Regions from separate parts of the Homo sapiens genome. Here all the other regions are linked to region 3. The links are contacts of gene promoters, found by promoter capture Hi-C in human tissues and cell types (Jung and others, 2019). All regions are on one chromosome and are shown on one strand. Each heading gives the region's core, a stretch centred on a gene start or on the middle of the fragment in contact. The rest is flanking DNA. Distances are from core to core; before and after follow the strand shown. Region 1 overlaps PSMF1 (proteasome inhibitor subunit 1). Region 2 has its middle 27 kb from the start of SIRPA. Region 3 holds the start of NSFL1C (NSFL1 cofactor).

Region 1 (4,116 bases), core at 316-2,815, 330 kb before region 3:
TCTTCTTTGAATGTTTGGTAGAATTCTTCCTGAAATCATCTGAGCCTGGAGATTTTTGGTTTTTGTTTTTTTATTTTATTTTTTTAGAATGTTAAGTGTAATTCAGTTTCTTTAATGGAACTATTCAGATTATCTATTTCATTTTGGCTGAGTTGTAGTTTATGGTTTTTAAGAATTGGTCTATTCTGAGTTGTTGGATTAAGTTGTTCTTAGTATTCTCTTATTATCCTTTCAGTGGCTACAGATCTATTGTAATATCTCCTGTTTCGTTCTTGTTATTGGTGACTGTGTCCTCTCTTTGTATTTGTCAGTCTCGCCAGGAGTTGGTCAGTTTTATTCTTTTTTTTTGAAGAATTGACTTTGTTTCATTTTCTCTCTTGTTTTTCTTTTTTATTGACTTCTGTTCTTACCTTTATTACTTCTGCTTGCTTTGAGTTAATTTGCTCTTCTTTTTCTAGGTTCTTTAGGTCAGAATTTTGGTTATTGATTTGAATTCCTTCCTCTATTTTGATGTAAGCATTTAGTGCTATGAGGTTTCTTCTCAGCAATCCTTTAGTTATATCCCACATATTTTCGTATGTTTTTATTTTCATTTTAATTCAGTGCTATATATTTCTTTTTTGTGACTTTGATCCAAGGATTTTCTAGAAGTATGTTGCTTAATTTTCATGTATTTAGAGAGTTAACTTTTTGTTTTGATTTCTGTTATGATTCCATATGGTTGGAGAACATACTTTATATGATTTCAGTTATTTTACATTTGTGAGCTTTGCTTTATGGGCCAGGATGTGGTTCATTTTAAAATACCAGTGTTTTAGGAAGCCTGGAGTCCTGCCCACTCTGTTACCTCAGCCTGCCTCCACACCTCAGCTGTGGCTCACGTCACTTGTCTCTCACAGGCATAGAAAAAGAGGCCCAGGCAGGATGGGACAGGTGGTAGGGGCAGCCTTCCGAGGACCCCTGAGTTAGTGACAGAACTGGACCTTGAACCCCCAGAGCTCTGCCTGCCTGGAACAGGAACCTGGTTCATCCTCCCCATGGAGCCTTTGCCTTCCATGACCCTTCCCATGACACGTGATGAACACACAATGAAGCTGAGGGAGGGGTGAGGCGGGTGAGGACAGAGGAGTAGCCAATCCAGGCCCTGTGCCCCTACACCCTCACCTCTTTCTAATGGGGTGGTAAACAAGGAGGGGCAACTCAGATGCCTAAGAAGCTTGGGCCCAAATCTCAGAGACAGCGTGGGGCTGTTGCCCCCCTCACCCAGGTCCAGCAGGCGGCCTGTTCCCCCACTTATAAACAGGCCAAGCGCAATGCCAGGAGCTATCAGGGCCGCCGCCGCCGCCGTCGTTGCAGCCAGAATACCACTTCCAGGGTTCCTAGCCAACTGCAAGCAGTTGACTCTTCATCTGCTTCCTGCAGGACCTACAAGAACAGTGAGGAGCTTCGGTCTCGTATTGTGTCTGGAATCATCACACCTATCCATGAGCAGTGGGAAAAGGCTAATGTAAGCAGTCCCCACCGGGAGTTCCCCCCTGCTACCGCCAGAGAGGTGGACCCACTCCGGATTCCTCCACACCACCCACACACCAGTCGGCAGCCTCCCTGGTGAGTACAGAGTGCCTAGCGGGAAGCCCATGCTTCTGTAGAGGGATTCCAGCCAGCTATCCCCATCCTGCCACTTGACCCCATCCCTGGCCCGTATGTGTTTTCAACAAAATGATCAGTGTCTTGGGGTGCATGGAGTTAGAAAGTGGAGACGTAAGTGGAGCAGTGAGTTCTTGAACTGCTACTAGTCACCCTAATTACCCAAAATCCTAAGCCTGCCTGATTTCTTTCTAGGGGCCACACAGAGCCCCTGAGTCTGTCCAAGGATCAGTGCCTCTGGGGCTTATGTGCAGTAGTCTAAGGTTGCTGCCCAGGTAATTCACAGCTAATTCATTCCAGAGCTTTTTGTCTAGACAGGGCCCTGGGCCAGTCTTTCTGAGAAAATGTAAACATGTAGAGGTACTAGCCCAGAGGAGATGCAGTCCCAGTGTCTTGCCCATTTCATTTCATTGTAGTCCCCCAATCTCACTATCAAGTTCAGAAGTTTTCCAAAATAGCATGGGATGTGAGTGAGTCACATTCCAAGGTTTTTGCAGATTAGGATGGCAGCATTAGGACTGGAGACTTCTGCTCAGAGGGAGGAGACAAGGACCAGGGGACCCTAGTCTCTAGCTGAGACAGCACTTCTCAGTTTGGAGCCCGTACTGTGATACCATACTGTTGGTAGGGATAAGGGACAGAGTTCACTGTGAGGGACATGAATAAGCACTTAATAAATGTAGACTACCATTGTTATTTTATTCTGGTTTGCAATTATATGCCTTTAGTTAGCTAAAAATGGGAAATCAGTTTAATTATTCCAAGTAATGATTGGCGTATCTCTTTGGCAAAATCTTTACCAAAAATATTGAGTCCTGTGAAGAGAATGGAGAATAAGAAAAAGTGGTTGAAAAGGTTGAAAATGGCTTGTCTGATATATCTTATTTTACCAAAGGGAATAGAGATAAGATGACCTGCCTGAGTTCGCCAGCCACTAATAAAGAGGCAGAGCCAGGGCTGGGGTCTAGGTGTCCTTACTCCCTGCACAGTGCTCTGGCTGTGATGTAAACAGATGTGATCTAACCACCTTTCCATGGTGGAAAGATTTAAGAATAAGCCCTGGTCAGAAGTCAAGTTGGGAAAAAATTTTAGACCTAAAGTAAATAGTAATTCTCAGCTTTATTAGACCCAATGCCCATTTCAAAACAAGTATTCTGTGAAATATCCCTTACTATATTGAAATGGAATTCATAGGTATTCTAACTTACCTCATGCACATTTCAGAGGAAATCAGTATAAAGTCCTAACTATAACATAAATTAGAAAAAGAGAGTAATTGATAAGATGATGATGTGTATTCCATGCGTAGGTGCCTGAGTACACTGGAGAGCATGGATGTTTACACCTGTATGTGGAATTATCTTGAATTCAACAGTGACAAAGGCTGTTGTATATAGATGTATTATGTCAACAACTCAAATACCACAAAACTCTGTTGCTGTTACTAACATGACTTTTTTGAAATGGTAAACAGCTGTTAGGAGAATTGCAAACAAAATAGTGATTGAATATTGTTTCTTCAGTTATACCATAGTTACATTCCTGGAAAAATGTGCTTGTTTTAAAGTAGTAGAAAAAAATACTTAGTGTTCATATATAAAATGGCCTTACATTCAGATAATTTATTTAGGCTTTACACCTCCATGAGTATCTAACAAGACATTTGAAAATTGTGTGGGATGCAGGTCATTCTTCATTTCGTGAAACTCTACTATGAATTGTAGAACATCCAGCATCTCTGGTCTCTGCCTGTAAATGCCAAGAACGCCCTCCAACTACTATGACAAGCAAAAATGACCCCAGGGCTTGCACTATGGCACCTGGAGGCTATGCTTCCCTATTTGGGAATCATAGACGTAGAGTATAGAATTGTGAAAGTAAAAATCCTAGCCTTGGAAGAACTGAGAGAATGAGAAAATCACCATGTTGCAACTTCTGCTGAAATAATGTACCTAGTCACAAATTGTCAATGGTTGATAAAACTATTAAGTAAAGGTCGATAGGGGACTTTATATTAGGTGGATCTGGCGAGTAGCATCTGAACCCATTGGTTAATCTTAACGCTAAAAGTGGGATAGCCAGATACTGTTTTCTAATATTATGCAATAGTAAGTTCACAGCAACCTCAATCTAGATCTAACTCCCAGTTTAAAAATATGAAGGACAGAAGAATGAGTCAAACAGGTGCATGAGGATACAACATCCAAAATTGGAATATGGAAAAATTATATAGGATAAATTGACCTTGTTTTTTCAACAAATAAATTAATCGCATGGGGAGAAAAGGGAGAAAAGGAGGCTCTTGTGGAAAGAGTCATACCAACTAAAATGCAGTGTTGGACCTTGTTTGGATCTTGATTCAAACTAATTCAAAAAATTATTTTTCAAACATTTGGGGAAATTTGAGCATTGACCAGGTATTAGATAGCATTATGAATTACTGCCAGTTTTGTTAGGTGAAATAATTCT
Region 2 (4,310 bases), core at 458-2,957, 400 kb after region 3:
AATGGTCCCTCCTCCACACCATGTAAACTTGGGGTTTCCATCAAGATCACCAAAACAAGAGTGGTCATGGGTCCCATTCAGGACCAAAGTGATTTTCTGGGATGAGTATGTGGCATAGATATGGATACATAATATATGTAGGTATATGACATGTATATGATAGATATATATACATGGATGTATGATGTGTATAGAGGATATATGACATATATATGATATATATAGGATATACAATATATGACATATGTGATATGTACATGGATATATGATATATAGAGAGGATACATGATATATGACATACATATTATAGATGTACACAGATAAATGATACATATGCCTCGCTCCTGCCAGCCTTGCTGGGCTTGTTGCATACATGTTTGGGTGTACCTGCTGGTGGCCTGCTTCCCTACCACACATTGACAGCCTGCCTGGAGGCTAAAGCCAACCAGAAAAGATGACCCTGTTGAGTTCCTGTATCCAGCCATTCCTGAAACCACCTTCCTAGACCAGAACCAATACATTCCCTCTTTTCCTTAAGTAGTTTGAGTTGGGTTTTTATCAGTTGAAGCTAAAAGAATCCTGACTAGCATACTGCAGTGAATATATACCGGTTAGAAGGCTGTGACCACCCAGAATCCATGCCCCCTTCCTAAGTAACCCTCATTGTTTAGGAAAATCACCTCTCCTCCATTGAATTCACCTGGGGGAACTGCTGGGCATGACACTGCTCCTTCCTTCACTCCTAGGTCACTACCTACACCCCCACACAAGACCAGGTGAATTGGCCATGAATCCCTTCCAGGCCTGCCCATAAAACCTCCCCCATGCTCCTCCACACCCTGTCTTTTCCTCTCCTCTGCCGGGGGATGCAGAAGATCAAAAAAGAAATCAAGATCCCCTCCCCTGGATGGAAGGACCTGGGTCTCTGAGTGACCATGAGGAGTTGACCTACACTGGACTGTGACCTGAGTGACAAGTAAACAGATTATGAGTCACTGAGATTTGGGGGTTGTCTGTAACAGCAGTTATCCTGCCCTAACTAACACAATAGGCTGGCACATTGGAGAGCTACCTGAGAGCCATTATCCTAAGAGCTTTCCATTCAACCACGAATATTTACTGAGTCCCTATTCTGTGCTTGCAAAGCCCCCTGTGTTTCCTGTTCTCCTGCACTGCCCACGATTGCCTCTCTCCTCGTCTGGCTGTCTTCTCTCTCTAGACGGTAAGTTCCCCAAGAGATGGGTCCTTATCTGTCTTCATCCTCTGCACCGTGTCCCTGGTATCTAGTTTAGCATCAGGAACATAGCAAGTGCTCCGTATTGATTGATTGGATTTGCAAAATGACCAGATGCATAAAGTTGTCATGAGGCTTAAGCGAGGTTCTGATTGTGAAGCGTCATGGCACACAGGAGGTCCCCTGCAAATACAGTAAAAATGAGCTAAATCAAGGTGCATGTGGGCTGGGCAAGGCTTTCAGTGGGAGGGCAGATTTTAGCCAGGACTTATCCTGCCCTATACCCTACAGAGAGCTAAGTTATCTCTGGTCCTGGCTGGTCCCAGGCTCTATGCAGGAGGAAGGATGGGGACCAGCTGCTTCCTGGAGGGAGCCCCAGTCCCAGAGGCTTTGAGCTGTGGTAGGGGTGAGGCAACACTTCAGGAAATAACATTTCAAAGGCTTTGGCTGTGAGAGCAGACTTCTCACCCCTGTCTTGTGTGGAGGTGGGTGTGGGATGCCTGGTGTGCCTCTGGGGTAAAGCATCCCTTTCACGGTTTGAAATCTCATCTCGGGAAAGCTTAACTCCTTGTACCCCATTCTACTGGCTATAGACAGGCTCCAGGGATTTAGCCCAAGACTCCTAGGATAATGTCCAAACTCCATACCTGGGGTAGGAATGGGGGCAGGTGCAGCATGTCCAGCATGATGCAGCAGTTAACAGCCTGGGCTCTGGAGGCAGAATGCCTGGGTTCAAATCCTGGCTCAGTTCACATGGTAGCTGTGAGACTTTGGATGACTCAGCTTATCTGGACCTCAGTTTTCTCATCTGTAAAATGGGATTATAATAGTAACACACTAGAAGATTGTTAGGAAGATGACCTCGCTTTGACAACTAATGGAGTGTTCTTTTCTTTTCTTTTCTTTTCTTTCTTTCTTTCTCTTTCTTTCTTTCTTTCTTTCTTTCTCTTTCTTTCTTTCTTTCTTTCTTTCTTTCTTTCTTTCTTTCCTCCTTTCCTTTCCTTCCTTTCCTTTCTTTCTTCTTCTTTTTTCTTTTTTATTTCAGATCTCACTCTGTGCCCAGGCTGAAGTGCAGTGGTGTGATATCAGCTCACTGCAACCTCTGCCTCCCAGATTCAAGCAGTTCTCCTGCCTCATCCTCCCAAGTAGCTGGGACTACCAGTGCGCACCACCACACCCAGCTAGTTTTTGTATTTTTTTTAGTAGAGATGGGGTTTCACCATGTTGGCCAGGCTGGTCTCGAACTCCTGACCTCAAGTGATCTGCCTGCCTCAGCCTTCTGAAGTGATGGGATTATAGGCATGAGTCACCACACCTGGCCAAGTGTGTTTCTTAAATGTTTTAATTCCTAACATGGTAACTATCAATAGATAAACTGACATAAACAAAATTCTTTGGGGTCCACAGTAATTTTTAAGAGTATAAAGGGGTCCTAAAACCAAAACATTAAAATCCAGTCTCATGTGATAACTTCACACTACACATGCCAGATGATTCACCTGGCGTCAATTCTTCACTTCCTCCTCTCCTCCCCCGACCGGCCATGACCTAGTTTGGACCCTGTGCTCTGTCCAAATGAGCAACTGAGGCACCTACCCAAGGAGGCCATGAGGATTCCTCCCTCCACACCCCTGAACAGCAGCTGTCTACCCTGAATTCTGTGGTTTCACTATCCTTAACGAAATTGTACTTACTCTGCAAGGCCCAGGGGCTTCTGCCTCCTGCAGGAAGCCTGGCTGACTGCCCTAAATGGAGCCCTTGGTCCTCTGAGCTCACACAGCACTGCCCAGTCATGAGGGCAGATGGCCAAGGCAGCTTCATCAGTTTTGCTTGTGAAAGCCCATCTTCTCACTAGACTGCACGCTGCCTCTGGCTTTGGGGTCAGAACAGAGCTGAACTGGGTCATGTTGGGCAAGTCGCTGTCCCTCTCTGAGCCTGTTTCCTTATCTGCAGAATGGGGTAATTATGAGACTTACTGTGCAGATCTTGTAAGGACTGGATGAGCAAATGCACTGGATTAATTTGCTAGCGCTGCCATAACGAAGTATCACACTCGACCAGCCGCTGTGGCTCATGACTGTAATCCCAGCACTTTGGGAGACTGAGGCGGGTAGATCACTTGAGGTCAGGAATTCAAGACTAGCCTGGCCAACATGGTGAAATCTCCTCTCTACTAAAAATACAAAAATTAGCAGGGCATGGTGGCGGGTGCCTGTAATCCCAGCTACTTGGGAGGTTGAGGCAGAAGAATGGCTTGAACCCAAGAGGTGGAGGTTGCAGTGAGCCAAGATCATGCCACTGCACTCCAGCCTGGGAGACAGAGTGAGACTCCAACTCAAAACACAAACAAAAACAAACAAACAAAAAACGAAGTGTCACAATTGGCTGTGATACTGGTGCTTCAAAAGAAACCAACCCTGCTGACCCCTTGATCATGAACTTCTAGCCCCCAGAATTGTGAGACAATAAATTTCTGTTGTTTTGTGCCATGATGCTTCACAATTAAAACCTCACTTAAGCATCACAATGACTTTGTACATCTGGTCATTTTGCAAATCCAATCAATCAATACTTATTGAGCACTTGCTGTGTTTCTGACACTACACTAGATACTGGAGACACAGTATAGAAGACAGACAAGCACCCGTCTCCCAGGGAACTTATGGTCTAGAGAGAGAAGATAGGGCAGGGCCTTGGGGGTCACTCTAAGGACTTTCGCTTTTCCTCTGCACACAATGCGGAGCCACAGGATATTCTGGTGCTTCAACAACAGAAGTTTATTGTCTCACAATTCTGGGGGCTAGAAGTCCAAGATCAAGGTGTTGGCAGGGCTGGTTTCTTCTGAGGCCTCTCTCCTCGGCTTGTAGATGGCTGTTTCTTTCTGTGTCTTTACCTGGTCTTCCCTCTGTGTGTGTCTGCATCCTAATCTCCTCTTCTTATAAAGTTGTCCTTATAAAGGACACCAGTCATACTGAATTAAGATCCACCCTCAATGACCTCATGTAATTAATTACCTTTTTAAAGACCCAATCTCCAAATACAGTCACATGCTAAGGTGTTGGGGGTTGGGGCTTCA
Region 3 (3,989 bases), core at 136-2,635:
CTGTGTGCTTTTAGGTCTTTCAGGTAGAAACTTTTTATTTCTGCCCAGCATAGGGGCTTCCCATTGTGTCTAGGTGTGATCTAGGTGTGATGCTTTACCGAATTCTTATGTTTGGGGAGTAATTTACGTTTGGCAGCAGACTCAGTTCAAATTCCAACCCCGCTACTTACTGGCTATGTGACCCTGAGCAAATTCTTTGCCCTCTGTGCTTCCAATTCCTCATCCATAAAATGGGTCTAGTCTTTACCTCATAGTGTTGCTAGGATCCAACGAATCATATTATGTAAAGTGCTTGGCACATGGTGGTTTAAAGCTTGGGCTCTGTCTGCTTGCAATCAGACAGAACTGGGTTCCACTTCTACCTCTTCTGCCTGGTAGCTAGTGAGGCCTTGAGCAAGTTACTTAACCTCTTTAATCTCAGCTGCAAAATGCGAAGGTTAAATGACAAAAGACATGTAAAGCAGTCAGAACAGCGCTTGGCTCATGGTAGGTACTCAATAAATATTAGTCATCACCGTCATCATCTACCTAAGACGAAGCTGGCCAAGAATATTTATGCAATTCTTTCTACAGTTAATTACCGAATGCTTATTATGTGCCAGGCATTGTTCCAGGCACTGGGAATTCATCAGTGTACAAAAATCCCTGCCTCGTGAAGCTTAAGTCTTCTTAGCAAGTATTTAGTGAATACTCAGTACGTGCCAATGAACTACACAGCAATTTCCACGAGACTCCCATTTTACAGATAAGTTAACTACGCAAGGTGAAGAAGCTCCAACCTTGCGCCACCACCCCAGAGGTATTCTCCCAGCAATTAGGAAGGCTGGGCGGCGGTCAACTCCCGGGCTGGACTTCGGAAGTGGAAATGAGCGGCCACCTAGTCCCGAGTGGGGCTTCACCCAAGAGCTGCTCACTCGGACCAGCCCGGCCTCCAGCAGATACTCGGCGCGGCAGCCACGCCCCCAGGCGCTCCCTCTCCTCGCCGGCTGCCGCAGCGCCCGAAGTCTCGCTGACGCCGCAAGCGGGCGAGGCAGGGTGAAACTGGCACGGCAGAACTGGCTGGGGCTGGCCCGCGTTCCCCCACTCCCAAGCCGAGCAGGCGACGCGTGACAAGCGGTCCCGGGACCATGAGGCCTGGGTCGGGCCGCGGTAGAGCGGGGATGACTGTGCGCTTCGGCCGCCGCGGGCTTAAGGCACCAGGCGCCCGCTCCCAGCAGTCCCCGGCCCACCCGACACAGCCCGCCGCGCGGCGCTACCTGCAAGTCCCAGCCGGCCGACTCGAGAAAGAAGCGGGCCCGGTCCTCCTCGGCGCCCGTCACCGCCACGAACTCCCTCAGCGCCTCCTGTCGCTCCGCCGCCATCTTCGCCCCGTGCGCCTTCCAAAGCGCTCCGGCGGCCGCCGCACAGGCCCAGCCCCGCTGCCGCGTTCCGCTTGCCGGTCGACGAGGCCCAGCCGATGAGGGCCCAGCAGCTGGGAGCCCGCCCGCAGCCCCGCCCCACGCGGTGCCTCACGCAAAGCCCTCCGTGCGGGAAGCCCCGCCGCTCCGCGCCCTCTGGCGACCGCGGCGCGAACCGCAGCCTAACGGCGGGGGTGGGAGCCCGAAGGATGAGAGGCGGGGCGGGTCTTACATACACCTGTGGGCTGAAGGCTCCCTGCAGGAGTCAGATTCCCAGTTATTCATTGACGCAGCCCTCATTTCATTAATTGTGCATTCGTTCATTCACTTACTTGTCAAGCATTTACTGAGAGCTATCAATGGCCCGACGTTTTTCTAGGGCTGTGGATATGGCAGGGAGCAAAACAAAGTCCCTGCTCCCATGCTTCTTACATTCTAGGGGTAAAAATTCAGACCTTGAACAGGCTAGGCCTCCGCTCACAACACGTCCATGCCTCGTTATCTCGCCCCGCATAAAAGACAGTCTCATGGCCTGCCTGCAGGACCCATGAGAGATGGGCCAGTTCCTCCCTCTCATCAAGGGATCCGCTAGCTTCCTCTGCTCCAGGCGCCTTGCCCTCCTTGCTGTTCCTGGAACTTGCCAGTTATCTTGCATTTGCCTCAGGGCCGTTGCATTAGCTGCTTCTGTGCCTGGAGCACCTTTCCCTTACCGATGGGCAAGGCGCTCTCCCCGCTTTCTTTGGGCCTCTGCTCCAAGGCCACTTTCTTAGGCACAATCCTGTCTTCTGGGTCCTCAGCTTCTTTGCCCTCTTGCCTCTCCAAAGAGGAACTTACTTGTTCAGCTTACTTGTTCTTTGTTCTCTATTTTCAAAGCCTAACTTCCTTGTTCTTTGTACCTCCTTACCCCTAGTTACGGTAAACAACCTTCCCGCGGGTCCTAATCTATAACTCACATCTGTTCCCTTGGATACCCTCGCTACAATTGCCATTCCCGCGGAAACTCTTCTTCCTGCCGAAACCGCTTGCCCTACCACTGTAGCCCACATTTCTGCTCCATTTGAACTAGCCAATCGGGATTAGCTTAGATTGCGCAGTCCAGCCCCAGCCAATGGGAACAGGACACAGAAGCAGCGACTAACCGCATTAGGGATAAAAACCCCTTCTCTCTTTTGTTCGGTGTGCTTTCCTGAAGACCAGATGTGTGAGTGGCACCCTTCTGCAGAAGTAAATTGGCTTTGCTGAAAAATCTTTTATTTCAGTGCTGGTTTTCCTTGAGACTTCGAGCTTTAATTTCCAACACCACCGTGGGACACTCTTCCCTTCCTCTTCCTCTGTCGGCCCCTGCTCATTCTTCAGCTCTCAGTTCAGGTGTCCCTTTCTCAAGGAGACCTTGAGAAGGTGCCCAGGCTTAGTCAAAACCCCTCTTAATCAGGTTATGAACAGCACAAAGTCCAGTCTTCCCTCAATTGACACAATAGTTGCTTTCCTGGAAAATTCGGTGTCTTATTAACACTGTGCAAGAAATCCTTTAAGTTTATATGACAAACGAGTTAGGGCTTGGGTTAGGTTATTAGGAGCATGGTTGCAGCCACAATAGGCCCTGGCAGGAGGCATGGGAGGAGGGTCCTTTCTTTGTGGTGTGAGACTCTCCTTTCTATTGCAAGGCCACCCAGGACCAGCCCCGGTCCCTAGGACTTACCCCTTTCATCATTGTGTCAACTCGAAATGCACCCCAACTTTCCAGGAAGTCCAAGAAGCTAGAGGCTCACTCTGGACCTCACGATTGGCAACCAGTAAGGTCTTTCTACCCTGGAAACTGACAACGACTAACCCCAGCTTAAAGATCTGCAGGCGATCAGCTCCTCAAGGTCCAGTTCCCTGGCTGGTATTGGAGTCATTGAAACTCATTGTCACCCCCCCTCTTCATTTTTGTGCCATCAGGGAAAGCTCTTTGTTCGGCCAGAGGGTCCCTGATCCCTCTTCTAGAGGACTTGAGGGCATCCTTTCCCATAACACTACCTGGCAGCTAGTGTTTACTGAGCACTTACTATGCCCCTAGACACTCTGCAAAGAGCCTTAGATACACTAACTCATGCACCCTATGAAGTGAGTTCTATTGTTATCATTTCCATTTTGCAGATGGGGAAACCTAGACTTCTAAAGAGTTTTGAATCCAGGTATGGCACAGCTCCTGAGTCTGCTTCTAACCGCTACACCACACTGTCTCTCCTTAGACTGCAGGACTGTGCTGGTCACTTCCTATGGCTGGTTTCTGGAAGCAGCTCCAGATGACCCAACTGGAGTTTAAGGCAGGGGATGTGAGGGCATGAACTTGAAACTACATTTACATAACACTTATCTAAGTGTCCTTAACAAAACTAGAGAAGGAGGTGCTGCAGGCTCAGCTTTAGCTCCACTCTCCTATGTCCAACCACACCAGCCCCCAACCTCCAGCCCCATCCCACCCAAGCCCCATCCCCAAATTCTACCACCACGACCACCTCCAGCCTCACCTCTACCTCACAGATCCGCCACCAGCACCTGACCCACCCCGCCCCACTTTCCCTTCTAACTCCACCCTCAGTACTAAAT

What was found. The method cuts DNA at HindIII sites, captures the fragments that hold promoters and counts their contacts. A contact is called where the count stands out against the background at its distance.
Region 1: a fragment that was not itself captured here is called in contact with the fragment with the promoter of NSFL1C in region 3 in 1 of the 25 tissues and cell types used here (mesenchymal stem cells).
Region 2: a contact is called between a fragment that was not itself captured here and the fragment with the promoter of NSFL1C in region 3, in 1 of the 25 tissues and cell types used here (lymphoblastoid cells).

The regions. Positions count from the first base shown.
Region 1 is chr20:1,133,699-1,137,814 of GRCh38, forward strand. It overlaps PSMF1 (proteasome inhibitor subunit 1), which reads left to right. Exons shown (of 7, transcript NM_006814.5): 4 at 1,423-1,608. Among named protein-coding and RNA genes, the nearest start is that of PSMF1, 17 kb to the left of the region's middle. The HindIII fragment of the contact is 4,599 bases long and covers 1-3,865 here.
Region 2 is chr20:1,866,052-1,870,361 of GRCh38, forward strand. No RefSeq gene overlaps it. Among named protein-coding and RNA genes, the nearest start is that of SIRPA, 27 kb to the right of the region's middle. The HindIII fragment of the contact is 5,699 bases long and covers 1-4,310 here.
Region 3 is chr20:1,465,464-1,469,452 of GRCh38, forward strand. NSFL1C (NSFL1 cofactor) reads right to left here and starts at 1,386. Exons shown (of 9, transcript NM_016143.5): 1 at 1,257-1,386. The coding sequence starts at 1,361. RefSeq lists an enhancer at 615-1,116 and a silencer at 1,411-1,680. The HindIII fragment of the contact is 15,990 bases long and covers 486-3,989 here.